Regions from separate parts of the Homo sapiens genome. Here regions 1 and 2 are each linked to region 3. The links are contacts of gene promoters, found by promoter capture Hi-C in blood cells and fetal thymus (Javierre and others, 2016). All regions are on one chromosome and are shown on one strand. The core of a region is centred on a gene start or on the middle of the fragment in contact, and the rest is flanking DNA. Distances in the headings are between cores, read along the strand shown. Region 1 overlaps CEP250 (centrosomal protein 250). Region 2 overlaps CEP250 (centrosomal protein 250). Region 3 holds the start of PHF20 (PHD finger protein 20).

What was found. Contacts are between HindIII fragments. The CHiCAGO score rates a contact against its expected background, and 5 or more counts as called.
Region 1: a contact is called between a fragment that was not itself captured here and the fragment with the promoter of PHF20 in region 3, in 3 of 17 cell types (naive B cells, naive CD4 T cells and naive CD8 T cells). The highest score is 7.2, in naive B cells.
Region 2: a contact is called between a fragment that was not itself captured here and the fragment with the promoter of PHF20 in region 3, in 1 of 17 cell types (total B cells). The highest score is 5.7, in total B cells.

Annotation. Positions count from the first base shown.
Region 1 is chr20:35,494,722-35,497,421 of GRCh38, reverse strand. It overlaps CEP250 (centrosomal protein 250), which reads right to left. Exons shown (of 35, transcript NM_007186.6): 25 at 707-845. Among named protein-coding and RNA genes, the nearest start is that of CEP250-AS1, 5.1 kb to the right of the region's middle. The HindIII fragment of the contact is 2,436 bases long and covers 173-2,608 here.
Region 2 is chr20:35,468,742-35,471,441 of GRCh38, reverse strand. CEP250 (centrosomal protein 250) reads right to left here. Exons shown (of 35, transcript NM_007186.6): 10 at 1,456-1,552. Among named protein-coding and RNA genes, the nearest start is that of CEP250, 14 kb to the right of the region's middle. The HindIII fragment of the contact is 7,220 bases long and covers 1-2,700 here.
Region 3 is chr20:35,770,608-35,773,307 of GRCh38, reverse strand. PHF20 (PHD finger protein 20) reads right to left here and starts at 1,293. Exons shown (of 18, transcript NM_016436.5): 1 at 1,229-1,293. RefSeq lists a silencer at 846-1,225. The HindIII fragment of the contact is 4,645 bases long and covers 1-1,588 here.

The DNA of each region.
Region 1 (2,700 bases), core at 141-2,640, 280 kb after region 3:
TCGACGCTGCGCCTAGTAAGACCAGTCACAATAACATAGCTACCATGTATTGAATGCTTATTGTGTTCCTGACACTTTATATATTCCTATAATGGTTATAGGAATTAGGAACAAGAATTGTTCACCCTTGTTTTATGGATGAAGAAGCTGACGTTCACACAATTAGAAAGCTTACATTCAAACTCAAGACCATTGAACAGCCAAACCTGTGTGCCCTTAACCCCTGCAAGCCACCATCTGGCTCTTACACCCCATTCCTTCCCTCCTAGTTCCATCTTTTCTCTGTATACAATATCTGGGGTTCTGATGGGGGCAGACTGAGTCCCTGGAAGTCTTGCTGCTGCCTGCCTGATCTGGAGTATTTCTGGTTGCTCATTCTCCCTGCTACATCTTGCCAACCAGACCCAGCATACTTTGAAGCCGGTGTGCTGGAACCAGGCCTGCATGGGCTACACCCGTGTGCACTTTGCTGTGGGCTGTCAGGTTTCCCACAGGAGCCATGTCCATCTCTGGGTCAGATTCCCAAGCCCCCGCCTTGTCTAGTCCTGGCTTCCCCCTCCTGTAGGGGTGTTGAGGCACCAGCCTATCCTGTAATCAGGAAAAATAGATGGGTCCTCTCCATGAGAGGACTCAGAGCAATCAATCCACCGCTTCAGAATCAGGCTTCTGCCAGGGATGCAGAGCTCATAACCAGAGTGGGAAGTACCTGAGCACTGAGCTCTTTCTGTTCTCCCTGGGCCTCCTGCATGTCCTGGCGCAGGGCACTCAGCTCTTGTTGTCGAATAGAGTCAGCTTCTTGTAAAACAAGGAGTCTCTGTTCCTTTTCCATCAGTGAGAGAGTCAGGCTAAAAAGAGAGGGGTCAGAGTGCTGGGCCATTCTCTTAGGGAATGAAAAATTACCTTCTCATCTGAGTATTCTAAACATAGCATTAATAATCAAAATAGAAATAGTAATGATAATGATTATGATGTAACAATAAAAGCTATCATTTATTGAGCACTTACTATAATAAGTGCTCCTAGGTACTTCCTGCAGATGATGCCCCATTTCAACCTCACAGGTTTTTTTGTGTTTTTTTTTTATTGAGACAGAGTCTTGCTCTGTTACCCAGGCTGGGGTACAGTGGCACGATCTCGGCTCACTGCAGCCTCTGCCTCCCGGGTTCAAATGATTCTCGTGCCTCAGCCTCCAGAGTAGCTGGGATTGCAGGCATGCGCCACCATGCCTAGCTATCAACCTTATTCTTCTCTGGCAAATTTCACACATACCTTATATTAGTACCTCACGTTCAACATGTCCAAATCTTCCCCATCCCTTTCCTCTCCTCCCCTGTCCACCCAATCATCTCCTACTATGTTCCCTAGCTCAGTGAATGGCACTTCCATCCACACAGTGTCCTAACGTAGAACCTTGACTACTCCAGAGTTCTCCCTTCAACCTACCTACATCCAATCTATAATTATATACAATTGATTCTAACTCCCTTAACATCCTTTAAACCTCTTCTCTTCTCTCCTCCTCTTCCCCACTACCCTACCTTGGTTTAGCTTTAGGATCTCTCATCAGGACAACTGTACCAGCCTAACTTGTCTTCCTGCCTCTAGATTCACCACCAAAATAATGTGTCCCTTCTCAAACTGTGTCTTTTTTTTGTTGTTTTTTGCTTTTTTTGAGATGGAGTCTCGTTCTGTCACCGAGGCTGGAGTGCAGTGGTGTGATCTCAGCTCACTGCAACCTCCACCTCCTGGTTCAAGCAATTCTCCTGCCTCAGCCTTCCAAGTAGCTGGCATTACAGGCACCCACCACCATGCCCAGCTAATTTTTTTTTGTATTTTTAGTAGACATGTTGGCCAGGCTGGTCTTGAATTCCTGACCTCAAGTGATCTGCCCACCTCAGCCTCCCAAAGTGCTGGGATTACAGTCGTGGGACACAGCACCCAGCCCATCCCCTTCTCAAATTCCCACAGCACTAAGAATACAAGCTGCTCTTCACTCTGAATGGTCTTCTTTCACTCCTGATGTCTCATGGCATTACAATCCCTTCAAATACATCATAAGTTGGATTGTATCAATTTCCCTGCTTAAAATTCTCCAGAGGTTTCCTATGAAACTCAAACTACGAACTCCTTGCTGTGGCCTACCAAATCTTGAATGCTGTGGACCTGCCCAGCTCATGCCACTCTCCTCATTCACCAGGCTCCAATTACAATCCAATCAGGCTCCAACCACTCTTTCAGTTAACACTGTAAACTTTTATCTGCCTCACGGCCTTTGCATATTATTTCTCCTCTTACGGAATAGAACTCCCCCTCACCCTTTTACATGGGTAGCTCCACTTCATGCTGAGTGCTCAGTTTAAATGCAACTTCCTGAGAAAGGCCTTCCCTAACAATGGTTCTAAAGTCTCTTCTCTCTCTCACCCTGTTTCCTCCATGTGTCATAACGTAATAATTTGAGTTATTATTTGATTAATGTCTTCCCCACAAAACTATAAATTCTACTGGGGCAGGGACCATACAGTCTTGTTTATCACTGTATCCCCAAGCATGGTGCCTGGTGCATAACAGGCGTTCACGAAATATTTACTAAATAAATGAAGTTCAAGCTTTGAAGACAGGAACCATGTCCTCTCCACATGGCTACATGTACATCCCAGAGTTGCAGACATGAAAGGCAAGGTGGCCTGAGCAAACAACTGT
Region 2 (2,700 bases), core at 90-2,589, 300 kb after region 3:
AAAGATTTTACATAAAAATATAAATTTCTGGCTTCTCCCAAAAAGTTAACAAATGGGCCACACCCAGCCCCCATTCCTACATGGAAACGATTTACTGAAGTTGAATGGTAGATGCCTCATCTAGATGAGACATTTATTATTGAGGGTCCCACAATCCCTATTGCTCCTCATGGCTTCCTTAATACTGAGCTCAAGTGTCCCCTGCAGTACTGAAAACTAAATACAACAAACAGCACTGGAAAACCAGAATTCTTACAACTGAACCCATTTCATTTATTTACATTATCTGAGCCCCATGGATATTCTGAATTGGCAAGTTCCTGAAAAAAAAAGAGGGAATCAGAAAGCTACAATTCCTGTTGATCTCAGCTTGGATGAGAAGACTAGGGGTGTACATATGAATAGGGGTTCAGGAGCTACCTAAAATCAGAGATCTGAAAACTTATAGAGATGAAACATGGTATTAAGCCAGAGGGTTCTAACATCCAACCTTAGAGAAGCCCTCTGATAACATCCCTGGCAGATGTTAAGCCAATGACCAAAACCTTACTCCTTCACAAGACAGGCTGTTCAACTACTTAACAGCTCTAGCTGTGAGCCAGAATCTATTCCCCTATTAACTTCTAGCTATTGACATTGGTTTTGCCCTGGAAAACATTAAATATGTAAACTCTCTTTTCTCTTTTTTGAGACGGAGTTTCACTCTTGTTGCCCAGGCTGTAGTGCAATGGCATAACCTCGGCTCACCACAACCTCCACCTCCCAGGTTCAAGTGATTCTCCTGCCTCAGCCTCCCGAGCAGCTGGGTTTATAGGCATGTGCCACCACGACCGGCTAATTTTTTTTATTTTTTTAGTAGAGACGGGGTTTCTGCATGTTGGTCAGGCCGGTCTCAAACTCCCGACCTCAGGTGATCTGCCTGCCTCAGCTTCCCATAGTGCTGGGATTACAGGCGTGAGCCACCGCGCCCGGCCCTTCATAAACTCTCTTTTCCCAGCGTCAGTCCTTCAGATATGTGAAGGCAGCTATCATGTCTTCAAGGGCCTTCACAGGGCCTCAAGCTCTTTCTTCTCCCGGCTAAACATTGCCATACTCCTCAGTTGTTTCCCATGTGACTAGATTTTAAATCTCTCCACATATCCGCTTCCTGGTAACTCACTAATTTGCCAATGTGTCTCTGAATGTATGTGCCAATTCTCTGGTAAGGACACACTGCATACATATGCCATTGCAATTTCCCCAGGAATACAGTAGGGATAGTAGACAGTCAATAGTATTTATTCAATGAATAAATGAATGAGTTAATTAATTTTCAGATTCAGCCAAAATTTATTTTTTAGCTTTAGAGGATTTCATCATGGAATATGTAACTGGTATCCTGCACTATCTGTCCATAAAGCACAAGGAACCTACAAGCCCACGCCCAACTCCTTTCCAGAGCAAAGGATCATGTACCAGGATCTCCACTGTCTCTCTCAGAGCCTTTATCATCTTTTCATAATCTTCATTTTGCTTCTGAGACTGGGTCAACAGAGCAGAGAGCTCGGTCACCCTAAAGAGAAGAGCATAGCACTGTCACCAGAACAGCCCATGGATGTGGACAGAGCTACGATGCAGCACACCCCAGCCCCAGCCCCAACCCCAACCACTCCCAACTGCAGCCTCCCCCAAATCCCTTAGGCACCCCCAGCCCGTCTGCACTCCCTGAATACCACATGATGCTATAGCCTTGAAGTGGGGAAGCAAAAAACCACTCAGACACATGCAGGGATTTACCACATCTCAAGGCTGGAACACGTGTTTGGGGGCCCAAGAGCTGAAGGAAAGCCCTGGCCCAGGCCCTTCCAGGCCTCGCTTGATCTTGAAGTCAAGCACCCTGAAGCCAATAAGAACATCAGAATTGCACTTGGGATAGTCCCAAGGTCCCTCCAGCCCGAGGTTCTGACTCTGATAGGGAAAAAGGAAGGGCAATTTGGGGAAGATTATGTTCAACCTTCTTGATATTAATCTCAAAGTCCAGCAAAATCACCAAACACTTAACACTATATCTTAGAGCTTACTGCTTGCTATTATGTGAGTGGCTAAATAAATATTTCTTGAATGAATGCTATCTAAAAGTTTAAATTTTTTTCCAATTTTTTTTTTGAGACAGGGTCTTGCTCTGTTGCCCAGGCTGGAATACAGTGGTGCAATCATAGCTCACTCTCAAGCAATCCTCCTGCCTCAGCTTCCCAAGTAGCTAGAATTATAGGTGCATGCCACCACATGGCTATTCTTTTTTTATTTTTACTTTTAGTAGAGACAAGGTCTCACTATGTTGTCCAGGCTGGTCTCAAACTCCTGGGCTCAAGTGATCCTCCTCACTCAGCAAAAGTCTTAATAATTTTATTCTATACCATCTCTAAGAACCTTAACACACTGTATGGTCATTTGTTTAAGTATTGCATCACTCAACAAACATTCACTGGCCAGCCACGGTGGCTCAACCGGTAATCCTAGAACTTTGGGAGGCCAAGGTGGAAAGACTGCTTGAGCTCAGGAGTTCCAGACCGGCCTGGGAAACATAGTGAGACCCCGTCTCTACAAAAAAATTAAAAAGTTAGCCAGGCATAGTGGTGCGTGCCTGTAATCCCAGCTACTTTGGAGGCTGAGGCAAGAGAATTGCTTCAGCCCAGGAGGTTAAGGCTGCGGTGAGCTGTG
Region 3 (2,700 bases), core at 44-2,543:
AAGCTAAACAGGGTAGGAAGGCATGCTCAAAACCACAGACCACTCGCCACCTGGAAATGAGAGGACTCACAAAAAGGTGTGCCCCCCAAATTTAAGAAGCATCTGGAAAGTGGCTGCACTCTGAGAGTTGTATAACTAAAAGGGGTTCACCTCGTACATTTGGGGGGCACAAGAAACAAATATACTCCCAGATATGAAAATGAGTCTCCTTCAGGAAATAAGGTAGTTTGATTTGGGGAACACGTGAAAAGTGTGTAACCCCAATAATACAGTCTCGGGAGAAGGCAGTGAATTCCCTTATTTGTGAAACTGGAAATAAGTACCCATAAACTTCAAAATTTGGACATTGTTTTCGGCCCAACCTCAGGTTTGAAGGGCTGAGGAAAGGAAGTGGCCCCTAAATGTAAGAAATTCCAGAAGGCATGCTGTCAGATTTGGGACCTGGAAAAGGGGAATTCTTCCTTGGAGTAGAGGGGATACAAGAAAGTATCCCAAAACTTTAGCTAATGGACCCCAGATCTGAGGACCCGATAACAGGGTGAACCTCTAAATTGGAACGGAAATGCAGAATCAAATTGGAGGCCCGAAAAAAGGAATGTGCTCCCACTTTGGGGGCTGACGGAAGAGGGTACGCCCTAAATTTGGGGGGGGGAGGGCTTTTAGAAATTTAGATAAAATTCCAGAGCTAGAGCTTAAGAAAGGGGGTGTGCCGCCCAGTTTTCAAAACTATAGAGAAAAGGGACACTCCCATATTTGGGGTCTTGAGAAAGGAATGTGCTCCCCAGAATAGGATAAAAAAAGCCAATTTTAAAAAACATATTCCCAAAGCGCAAGGCAATAGCAGAGGCTGCTGATGAGGCTCTAGGTGCCCACACAGCTCAGGCTCGGGCCCTAGGGCTTACCCGCACCCCCAACACGGCCCGCTCCGCGCCCCGGGCCCGCACCCCACGGCCCAGCCCCCTCGGGCGGCGCTGATTGGCGGCAGCCGCCGCCACTCTTGCGGGTAGCCCCGGGGATTGGGCACCGCTCGCACGCCCGCCACGCTCTCAGCAGCAGTCCCAGGGCCTCCCTCCAGGCTGGGCGAGCGGGGCCAGGCGGGGAGCGGGGCCGGGCAGGGGACCGAAGCAGCGGTGGCGTCCGTCGCCGTCCCCGCCCGCACGGCGCGCGCGCAGCGCGGGCCCGGCCCAACCCGGCCCGGCCGGCCGGCTTCGCCTGGCCGCGAGCTCACCTCACGGCCCCACTCCGGCTGCGCCGCTCCAGGACCAACCGACAGAAGGACTCTGCGTGCTCTGCACCACGTGACCCCCGGGACGCGCCCAGCGTATGCCCCGCCCCCCACACACACGCATCATCGCCACCACCGAGTGACGTAAGGTCCCAGCTGCCCCGCCCCCTGCCCCGTCTGCCCGATCACTGTGGCAACGGCCTGCGCAGGCCACGCCCACTACCCTGACGCGCGGGAAACAGGCCCGCGCCCTAGCAGGAACACGAAGTCCCCACTCACTCGTAATCACTGAGATCACCGAAGCCGGGGAATGGACGCTATCCATCACCCGTTAATTTTGCCACCTAAATGCGTCTCAAAGCTTCCCATTTCTCCATCGAAGCGACCACCATCTCTCTCCAAGATGAAGATGGTTTCCACCCTATTACTCTTCGCCGTTCTAATCCATTCTTCGTACACCGGCAGAGAGGTCTTTTCAAAACGCCATCCCCTGCTCAAAGCTCGTTTCCCTCCCTACTCCGGATTAAGATCTAACTCTTCACCTAGACTATCTACCAGGCTCTTCAAAGTCTGGACCTGACCTGCTGCTTTCTTATCCTCACGAATCCAGCTCCCCCACATTCTCAGTGTCCTTCAACTCCGCTAACAATCCAGGTTCTTCTCATCTCAGAGCCTTTGCACTCATTTCTCCCCCACTTTATCATTAACTCCTAGAAAGGTTTCCAATTGCTGCTAAGGATAAGGAGCTGTATTTTCTCTGGGGACGAAGGTCGGAGTTGAAGCCACCCCAAAAGAATATGAGACCAGGAGCAGTGGCTCACGCCTGTAATCCCAACACTATGAGAGGCTGAGGTGGGTAGATCACTTGAGCTCAGGAGTTCGAGACCAGCCTGGGCAACATAGCTAGACCCCCGTCTCTCCAAGAAATACAACAATTAGCCAGGCGTGAACGTGCGCACCTGTGGTCCCAGCTCAACCTTCTGAGTAGCTGGGACTGCAGGCCCATGCCACCATGCCTAGCTAATTTTTTTTTTTTTTTGAGACACGGTCTCACTGTGTCACCCAGGCTGGAGTGCAGTGGCGCAGTCTCGGCTCCTCATAACCTCCACCTCCTAGGCCCAAGCAATTCTCCCACCTCAGTCTCCCAGATAGCTGGAACCACAGGTGTGCACCTGGCTAATTTTTGCATTTTTTTGTAGAGACGCAGTTTCACGATGTTGCCCAGGCTGGTCTTGAATTCCTGGGCTCAAGCAGTCCACCCACCTCAGCCTCCCAGAGTGCTGGAATTAACACCGTACTTGGCCACTTTTTTTTTTTTTTTTTGAGATAGAGTCTCGCTCTGTAGCCCAGACGGGAGTGCAGTGGTGCGATCTTGGCTCACTGCAACCTCTGCCTCCCGGGTTCAAGCAATTCTTTGCCTCAGCCTCCCAAGTAGCTGGGATTACAGGCGCACGCCGCCACGCCCAGCTAATTTT